Regions from separate parts of the Homo sapiens genome. Here regions 1 and 3 are each linked to region 2. Evidence: promoter capture Hi-C in human tissues and cell types (Jung and others, 2019). All regions are on one chromosome and are shown on one strand. Each heading gives the region's core, a stretch centred on a gene start or on the middle of the fragment in contact. The rest is flanking DNA. Distances are from core to core; before and after follow the strand shown. Region 1 has its middle 10 kb from the start of MIR4712. Region 2 holds the start of USP8 (ubiquitin specific peptidase 8). Region 3 overlaps USP8 (ubiquitin specific peptidase 8).

Region 1 (2,700 bases), core at 13-2,512, 54 kb before region 2:
ATGGTAGTTTTATGGCATCCTAAGCTAAGACAGCGCGTCTCTAGTTTCCCACAGATTCATAAAGGTCCATACAAAAATGTTATAACTGTTAATAGTGTCCTGTCCTTGAATTTAACAGCAACCAACATATTGTTTGCATAGTTCTTGCACCATTTGGAAACAGTGACCTTTAGGTGTTGCAGGTAACTATTGGGAAATCCTTCAATTTGTTTAACATTTCCATATTTTGATTTGCATCTTGGGAGTTGCTTGGAATTTGGGATCCTCTTCTGTCTCTTGAGTTGAAATCAGAGGCTGCTTGCCGGGCAAGGTGGCTCACGCCTGTAATCCCAGCACTTTGGGAGGCCCAGGCAGACAGATCACCAGATGTCGGGAGTTAGAAACCAGCCTGGCCAACATGGCAAAACCCCGTCTCTACTAAAAATACAAAAATTAGTCGGGCGTGCTGGTGCATGCCTGTAATCCTAGCTGCTTGGGTGCTGAGTTAGGAGAATTGCTTGAATCCGGGAGGTGGAGGTTGCAGTGAGCCAAGATCGTGTCACTGCACTCCAGCCGGGGCAACAGAGCAAGACTCTGCCTCAAAAAAAAGAAAAAAGAAATCAGAGGCTGGGCATAGTGGCTCATGCCTATAAGCCCAGCACTTTGGGAGGCCAAGGCAGGTGGATCACTTGAGGCCAGGAGTTCAAGACCAGCCTGGGCAACATGGCAAAAGCCTATCTCTACTAGAGATACAAAAGATTAGCTGGACGTGATGGTGTGTGCCTGTAATCCCAGCTACTCAAGAGGCTGAGGCACAAGAGAATTGCTTGAACACAGGAGGTGGAGGTTGCAGTGAGCCAAGATCACGCCACTGCACTCCAACCTGGGGCAACAGAGTGAGACTCTGTCTCAAAAAAAAAAAAAAGAAATCAGAGATAATATAAATGCAGGTGTAAACTCATACACTTAATGGGCTATAAGTTTTGGAACTGGCTGTGATAATATAACAAAAGTAATAATGGGCTGTAAGTGGTATTAAATGTGGGATTAACTGGATATTTAATGATACCAAGGAATCATTAATTTTGTTTGGCTGTGATGTTTTATTATTAGAATGATGTTATGATTAAATTTTATTTTTGTCTGGATACAGTGGCTCACACCTGTAATCCCAGTGCTTTGGGAGGCCGAGGCAGATGGATCACTTGAGGCCAGGAGTTCCAGACCAGCCTGGCCAACACGGCGAAACCCCATCTCTACTAAAAATACAAAAAATTAGCCAGGCCTGGTGGTGCACGCTTGTAATCCCAGGTACTTGGGAGGCTAAGGCAGGAGGATCACTTGAACCCAGGGGAGGCTGCAGTGAGCTGAGATCGTGCCACTGCACTCCAGCTTGGGCAACAGAGCAAGACTCCATCTTAAAAAGAAGAAAGAAAGAACTTCTATTTTTTAAATGTTTTTTCCTTTCATTGAACTCCATTTATAGCCTTTCCATTCAGAGCATAAAGATTAAATTTTAAAACAAGGCTTGGCACCCTGGCTTATGCCTGTAATCCCAGCACTTTGTGAGGCCAAGGTGGGCGGATCACCTGAGCTCAGAAGTTTGAGTCCAGCCTGGCTAACATGGTGAAACCCCATCTCTAAAAGAGTACACAGTCCTAGAGCAGTGGTGTGCGCCTGTAGTCCTAGCTACCTGGGAGGCTGAACCAGGAGAATTGCTTGAGCCTGGGAGGCAGAGGTTGCAGTGAGCCAAGATCGCACCATTACACTCCAGCCTGGGTGACAGAGAGAGACCCTGTGCCCCTCAAAAAAATGTTTTTTTTAAACAAGAATCTCTCAGGCATACTGAAATGTTGAAGAGGAAATTATATTAATATCTGGGACTTGTTTCCAAATTTGGAATTGGGGCAGGGTGTAAATTGTTGGCAATATCAAAGAAACGAGGAGTTGGAATGATAATTGTAGAAGCTGCATGATAGATACACATTCTTTATACTTCTGTATATGTTGAAATTTTTTATCAAATTATAATTGTGTATAATGACTAATTATGCTTTCATTGTCTATTCTGTGTGGTTATGTTACTTGCTGAAATTAATACATAAAGAGTCTTCAACTTAAATGACTTATCAAGCATAAATATTAAAATACTGGATGTTACTACACATTTGACTCCACTTATGCATTTATTCATCAACTATTAAATGCTTTCATGTAGATTTCTCATTTAATCTCTGCAAGGTAGGTGTTACCCCTGGTTTTACAAATGAGAAAATGTAGATTCAAGATAAGTAATATGCAGGTCAAGAATAGCAAAATCGGTCGGGTGCGGTACCTCACGCCTGTAATCCCAACACTTTGAGAGGCCGAAGTGGGTGGATCACCTGAGGTCAGGAGTTCAATCCCAGCCTAGCCAATACAGTGAAACCCCATCTCTACTAAAAATACAAAAATTAGCCAGGCATGATGGCAGGTGCCTGTAATACCAACTACTCGGGGGGTTGAGGGAGGAGAATCGTTTGAACCCGGGAGGTGGAGGTTGCAGTGGCCCGAGATTGTGTCACTGCACTCCAGCCTGGGCGACAGAGCTAGACTCCATCTAAAAAAAATGAAAATAGCAAAATTACAACTTTTCCCCCATTTGGTCTTCCACCTGGAAACTCATGTTTTATTTCTACTGTTACCATGCTGCTTCTCAGACATGCCTGACTGTTTCTTCCC
Region 2 (2,700 bases), core at 138-2,637:
ATCTGCCCACCTTGGCCTCCCAAAGTGCTGGGATTACAGGCGTGAGCTACCGCTCCCGGTCTAATTTTTAAATTTTTGTTTTGTAGAGATGAGGGTCTCCCTTTGTTGCTCAAGCTGGTCTCTGTCTCTTGGGATCAAGGGATCCTCCTGCCTCAGCCTCCCAAAGTGCTGGGATTACAGGCCTGGGCCACTGCAACCTGGCCTTCATCACAAATTCATTGAACACACTTTCTTTATTTTATCCTTTTTTATTTTTAAAAATTTTTATTTCAGTAGTTTTGGAGGAACAGGTTGCATGGAAAAGTTCTTTAGTGGTCATTTCTGAGATTTTGGTGCACCCATCACCCGAGCAGTGTACACTGTACCATGTGGCACACACTTTCACTTAAAGCATTTACTAGACCTCGCTAGCCAGATTTCCCATCCCTGAGACACCTGGAATGTTCCTGAGGACTTAGTGACTACTGCCTAAAGCTCCACCCAAGTCAATTTTATGTTTACAGGCAACCGGAGCATCCAATCACCTTTCTCTAAGAGAGTACAAAGATCAGCTCGCGAGAAAGTTCAGACGTCTCATTTCGTTTCTATTACACGGGGCCTTCGCCCAACCAGACGGAGTCTTGCTCTGCTGCCCAGGCTGGAGTGCAGTAGCGCGATCTCGGCTCATTGCAACCTTCGCTCCCCGGGTTTAAGCAATTCTCCTGCCTCAGCCACTGGAGTAGCTAGGATTACAGGCGCACGCCACCACGCCAAGCTAATTTTTTGTATTCTTAATAGAGACGGGGGTTTCACCATGTTGGCCAGGCTGGTCTCGAACTCCTGACCTCATCATTTGCCCGCCTCGGCCTCCCAAAGCGCTGGGATTACAGGCGTGAGCCACCGTGCCCAGCCTCGCCGGGGCCTTTTAAGTGACGTTAAAAATTGTACATAAAATATGTTTTAGGATAATACTTGTTTTTCTTTGACCAAAGGCTTGGCTTCAGAGAATGTTTAGCCAGAAATAGAGGGGCGTTAAATCCCCTTTTTTCTAATTTCCAATCTGAGGAGGAAAATAACGTAGTAAAGGGACGCAAGAGCAACCTTGCTTCTTCCACAACAAGGCCCAGGCGCCGCCTTGCAACCCGGAAATGCAGGGTGCAGTGCGGGGGGTAAGGGACCGGCCAACTATGTTGACCCGACTCAGAGAAACCCCGCCCTTGCCGCCACCGCCCACCCATAACGTCCTCCTCGACCCTCCCTCGACCATCCCTCGCCCCGCGGCCCTCACCGAAAAGGGGAGGGCGGTGGAAGAGAGAGGAGTCAAGGGAGCGCACGCGAAGCCCCGCCCCTGCCGTGACGTCTGGAGACGCGACGCGTCGCCTCGCAATGCAAATCGGGAAAAGGGGGTGAGCTGGGCTGGCTTCCGTCCTGGTAGCCAAGGCTAATTCTCCCTCGAGTTCTTGGGAGATGGGCATTTGGCGAGAAGGCTGGCGTTAGTGAAGCGCGCCCGGCGTCACGGTGAGTGCGGGTCTTGGGCCCTAGCACCTGTTCTCTGGGAAGTCGTCCGCTGTGAACGATGAACGCCTTTCCTTCCACCAGCTGCTGGTTACCCCGGAGACAAGCTCTGTCCGCGGAGAGGAGTGGGACAACTCCTAAAGGTAGAATCAGCTTGTGGAGAGGAAAGGCCCAACCTTGAGTCTTTTACGCCATCTACCTAGGATTGCCAAGCGAGTTTCGTGTGTTTTTTTGGTTTTAAAAGGTGGCTTTGACCAATCTTCCGTTCTCTTGGACACTTATACCCGACTTTGACCTCTTTCCTCTTGCTTCCGGTTTTTTTTTTTTTCTGCAATCTGCCTACAATCCCAGGCCTTACTGTAGCTCCTAAAACTGTTTCCCAGTTTCTCTTCTTCCCCAGTCACACTTGATTTTAGTGAAGTTTGAGTTTAAAGACCCTATAAGCTTGTCAGAGTTAAAACTATGACTTCCTCAAATAGAAGATTTTTTTTTTTTCCCCTAAAAAGTGCCTTCCATCCTAGAGTTGTGGGACAAGTTAATTTCACCGCCACTCCACCTTGGAAATTATCAGAATCCTTACTAGCAGTGATGTGCATTATAAAGCTGCAGACCACCCTCCTGGGTTTATTTCTTGCCTCCAGTTCATTCTGTGACCTTGAACAAGTCACTTAATCACTAACAAAAAATTTACCTGACACGGAGGTGTTGCAGAGCCTAAGGAATTTAGTATTTGTTAAGAGACCTGAGGGTTTCAGATGAAAGGGATTTATATCTAAAGGATGTTACCTTTTCTGAATCTGCAAAGCATCGTTAGTTTTGTAAATATCTTGCTGCAGCCATTAAAAATGCCAAGTGGTATTTGTTAAGGAAGTATTCCTGTTTTAGGCTTGCTCTGCTGCGGCTTTGCTATGTAAGCAGATTTTTGCATTTCAGCCGATTCTGTTTAAGATTCGTTGGTGAATGTCATTCATGATGGATTTGGGTAGTTTCTCCTTACAGCATATCCCTGGACTATTAAGCATATCTGGAAGGTGATATCGGTTGTGTTATGTCTTTATCATGTTGATATGGCTGCTTTGAAATATGTATTCCTTTTCTTGTGACACATTGGATGCATCTTTAATATTAGTGAAGACCCTGTAGTAGTTTAAAAAAAAAATACACCTCTCATTAATGAAATTTTGCACATAGACATCTGTTTTTTTA
Region 3 (2,700 bases), core at 158-2,657, 40 kb after region 2:
TTAATTTTTTCTCCCCCCATCCATCCTGTGGTCAAAGACTAAATTATTTAACAGTCATTTACATCCCCCATAAAAAAAAAATCGAGGCCAGGCGCAGTGGCTCATTCCTGTAATCCCAGCACTTTGGGAGGCTCAGGAAGGAGGATTGCTTGAGCCCAGGAGTTCAAGACCAGCCTAGGTAACATGGTGAAACCCCTGTCTCTACAAAAAATACAAAAATTAGCTGGGTGTGGTGGTGGATGCCCTTAGTCCCATCTGCTCAGGAGGTTGAGGTGGGAGAATTGTTCGAGCCCGGGAGGTTGAGGCTGCAGTGAGCCACGATCACACCACTGTACTGCAGCCTATGACAGTGAGACCCTGTCTCAAATCCAAACCAGTAATATGGAAATTATCCATAGGTGGCGTTGATGCTCTAGTGACAAATATGTGACCTAAACAAGACTTTGGAATTCCTCTTCATCTGCTAGAGACGTTTTCCTCTCTCAGAAAAGGTTTACCTTGTCTACAGCCATACCACCTAACGCGCCCGATCTCGGGAGCGAAGCAGGGTCAGGCCTGGTTAGTACTTGGATCAGAGAAAAGGTTGAACTTAAACATAATTATAGGTAACAGTAAAATAAATTCTCTACTTAAAATATTGCCATACAACAATTACAAAAGTAAACTGAGTGTGCTATAAGGTACTTCCCTAAAAGCTGTTACTGATTCATTCCAAGATTAGTTTTTATGCATTTGTTCCTTTGTATGTCATCCTGCTTAAATGTTGTCCTTCTCAGTGGTTTGTTAACAACTTTTTTAGTCTGTTTTGTTAGCATACACTTGATGGCTAGAGATGGAAGGAGGACGATTGTTAGCAGCTATAGGTCTTTTAGCATAGGAGCTACTGAGACTACTTTTCTTCTCACAGCTCACTGCTGAAACAGCTTATTATATAATCTCAACTCTCTTGTAGTGCCTTTTAATCTTTCACTTCAGTAGAGCTAAGGAAAAATAGTAACATAGGGAATATTTATTTTGACAGATTGCTGCCCTCCCCCAAAAGTAAATAAATTAAATATTGCATTAGCTTTACTTAGTTTCCTTTTTGTTAGCCTTCTTAGAAAACAAAATAATCTTTTTTCCTTCTGGCTGGGAGCTAACAAATGAACATCAAGTAGAATGACAATTGGCAAATTTTTCTTAAAGGGATAGATGGTAAACATTTTAGGCTTGGGGAACCTTATGGGCTTGGAGAGTCCTGTGGTCTCTGACACAACTATTGATCTCTGCTGTTGCAGTATGAAAAAATGTGTAAACAAACTAGTGTGGCAGTGATCCAGTAAAAACAGATGGCCATAGTTTTTCAACCTCTGATGTAGAATAGCAAGCTTTTGACTTGTTATTCTAAGAATACTTGGATATCTAAGTTTTTCAAAAAGCTACCGTAAGACTGCCATCAGAGACCTTTTGAATTTAGAACTTTTCCAGAATTTTAGAACCATAGATATTTCTTTCTTCCAGTTAGCATTTTTCTAATGTCTTAATTTTTGAAAACATACTATTTTCCTGAGACACATATATTAATGTTCTTTATTTTATGTTGGTAACAGAGTCAATACCAGGTGTAGCTGTAAACTCAACAGAAAGTTTTGATTTTTAAGTCTTTGTAAACAGAGCATCGAACTGGTTTCTTGATAAATGTTAAAAACACAAGGTCAGGTATGTGGTGGCTCACGCCTGTAATCCCAACACTTTGGGACGCCAAGGTGGGCAGATCGCTTGAGGTCAGGAGTTCCAGACCAGCCTAGTCAACATGGTGAAACCCCATCTCTACTAAAAATACAAAAATTAGCCAGGCGTGGTAACAGCCTGTGTTCCCAGCTACTCAGGAGGCTGAGGCAGGAGAATCACTTGAACCTGGGAGGTGGAGGTTGCAGTGAGCTGAGATCATGCCACTGCACTCCAGCCTGGGTTACAGAACGAGACCCTGTCTCAAGAAAAAAAACAAGTTGTATTTAATGTTAGTTTACAAGATAATAAATGGTATGATGGAGTAGTAAATATGTGGCATCCATATATATTCAGTATACTTTGCTCTTCTAGAAAAAGCGGTTTGTCCTGTGTTTTGTGATGTCAGCACATCTTGTGCTGTTTCTTGTCACTTACACTGTCTCTCTCAATTCCAAGGAGCAATCACAGCAAAGGAACTATACACAATGATGACGGATAAAAACATCAGCTTGATTATAATGGATGCTCGAAGAATGCAGGATTATCAGGATTCCTGTATTTTACATTCTCTCAGTGTTCCTGAAGAAGCCATCAGTCCAGGGTGGGTTATTGTGTAGTAAAGTAGTAAACTGTGTAGTAAGTAGTAAACTGTGGACCTTAGTAAATGTTACTACTTAGCATCCAAGCTAAATGTGATAAAGTAGTCTTTTCCTGGTAACTTTTTAAATCTTTGCCTCTTTTTATGTGTGTGGGTGGTGGGGGAGGGGAGGGGGAGGTACATTTTAGGAGCAGAGGTTTAATAGGCAAAAGAAAGAGAAAGAAGAACTGCTCTCTCACTTTTGAGAGTGAGGGGTGCCCAAGTGGGATTTCCCTAAATCTTTGCTTCTTAAAGACACACTCCACCCTTTTTGAAGGTTGAAGTTACGGATTTGCCAACTTTTGATTTGGCTGTTTTCTCCTATTGGTGGTATTTAGAATCTTATCAAAAGA

What was found. Contacts are between HindIII fragments. The study calls those that stand out against the background at their distance.
Region 1: a contact is called between a fragment that was not itself captured here and the fragment with the promoter of USP8 in region 2, in 1 of the 25 tissues and cell types used here (ovary).
Region 3: a contact is called between a fragment that was not itself captured here and the fragment with the promoter of USP8 in region 2, in 1 of the 25 tissues and cell types used here (mesenchymal stem cells).

What each region holds. Positions count from the first base shown.
Region 1 is chr15:50,369,200-50,371,899 of GRCh38, forward strand. No RefSeq gene overlaps it. Among named protein-coding and RNA genes, the nearest start is that of MIR4712, 10 kb to the left of the region's middle. The HindIII fragment of the contact is 3,399 bases long and covers 1-2,700 here.
Region 2 is chr15:50,423,018-50,425,717 of GRCh38, forward strand. USP8 (ubiquitin specific peptidase 8) reads left to right here and starts at 1,388. Exons shown (of 20, transcript NM_005154.5): 1 at 1,388-1,497. RefSeq lists enhancers at 211-1,207, 1,246-1,635 and a silencer at 1,086-1,135. The HindIII fragment of the contact is 18,008 bases long and covers 1-2,700 here.
Region 3 is chr15:50,462,881-50,465,580 of GRCh38, forward strand. It overlaps USP8 (ubiquitin specific peptidase 8), which reads left to right. Exons shown (of 20, transcript NM_005154.5): 7 at 2,167-2,311. It also overlaps the pseudogene RNA5SP395. Among named protein-coding and RNA genes, the nearest start is that of USP8, 40 kb to the left of the region's middle. The HindIII fragment of the contact is 3,549 bases long and covers 1-2,700 here.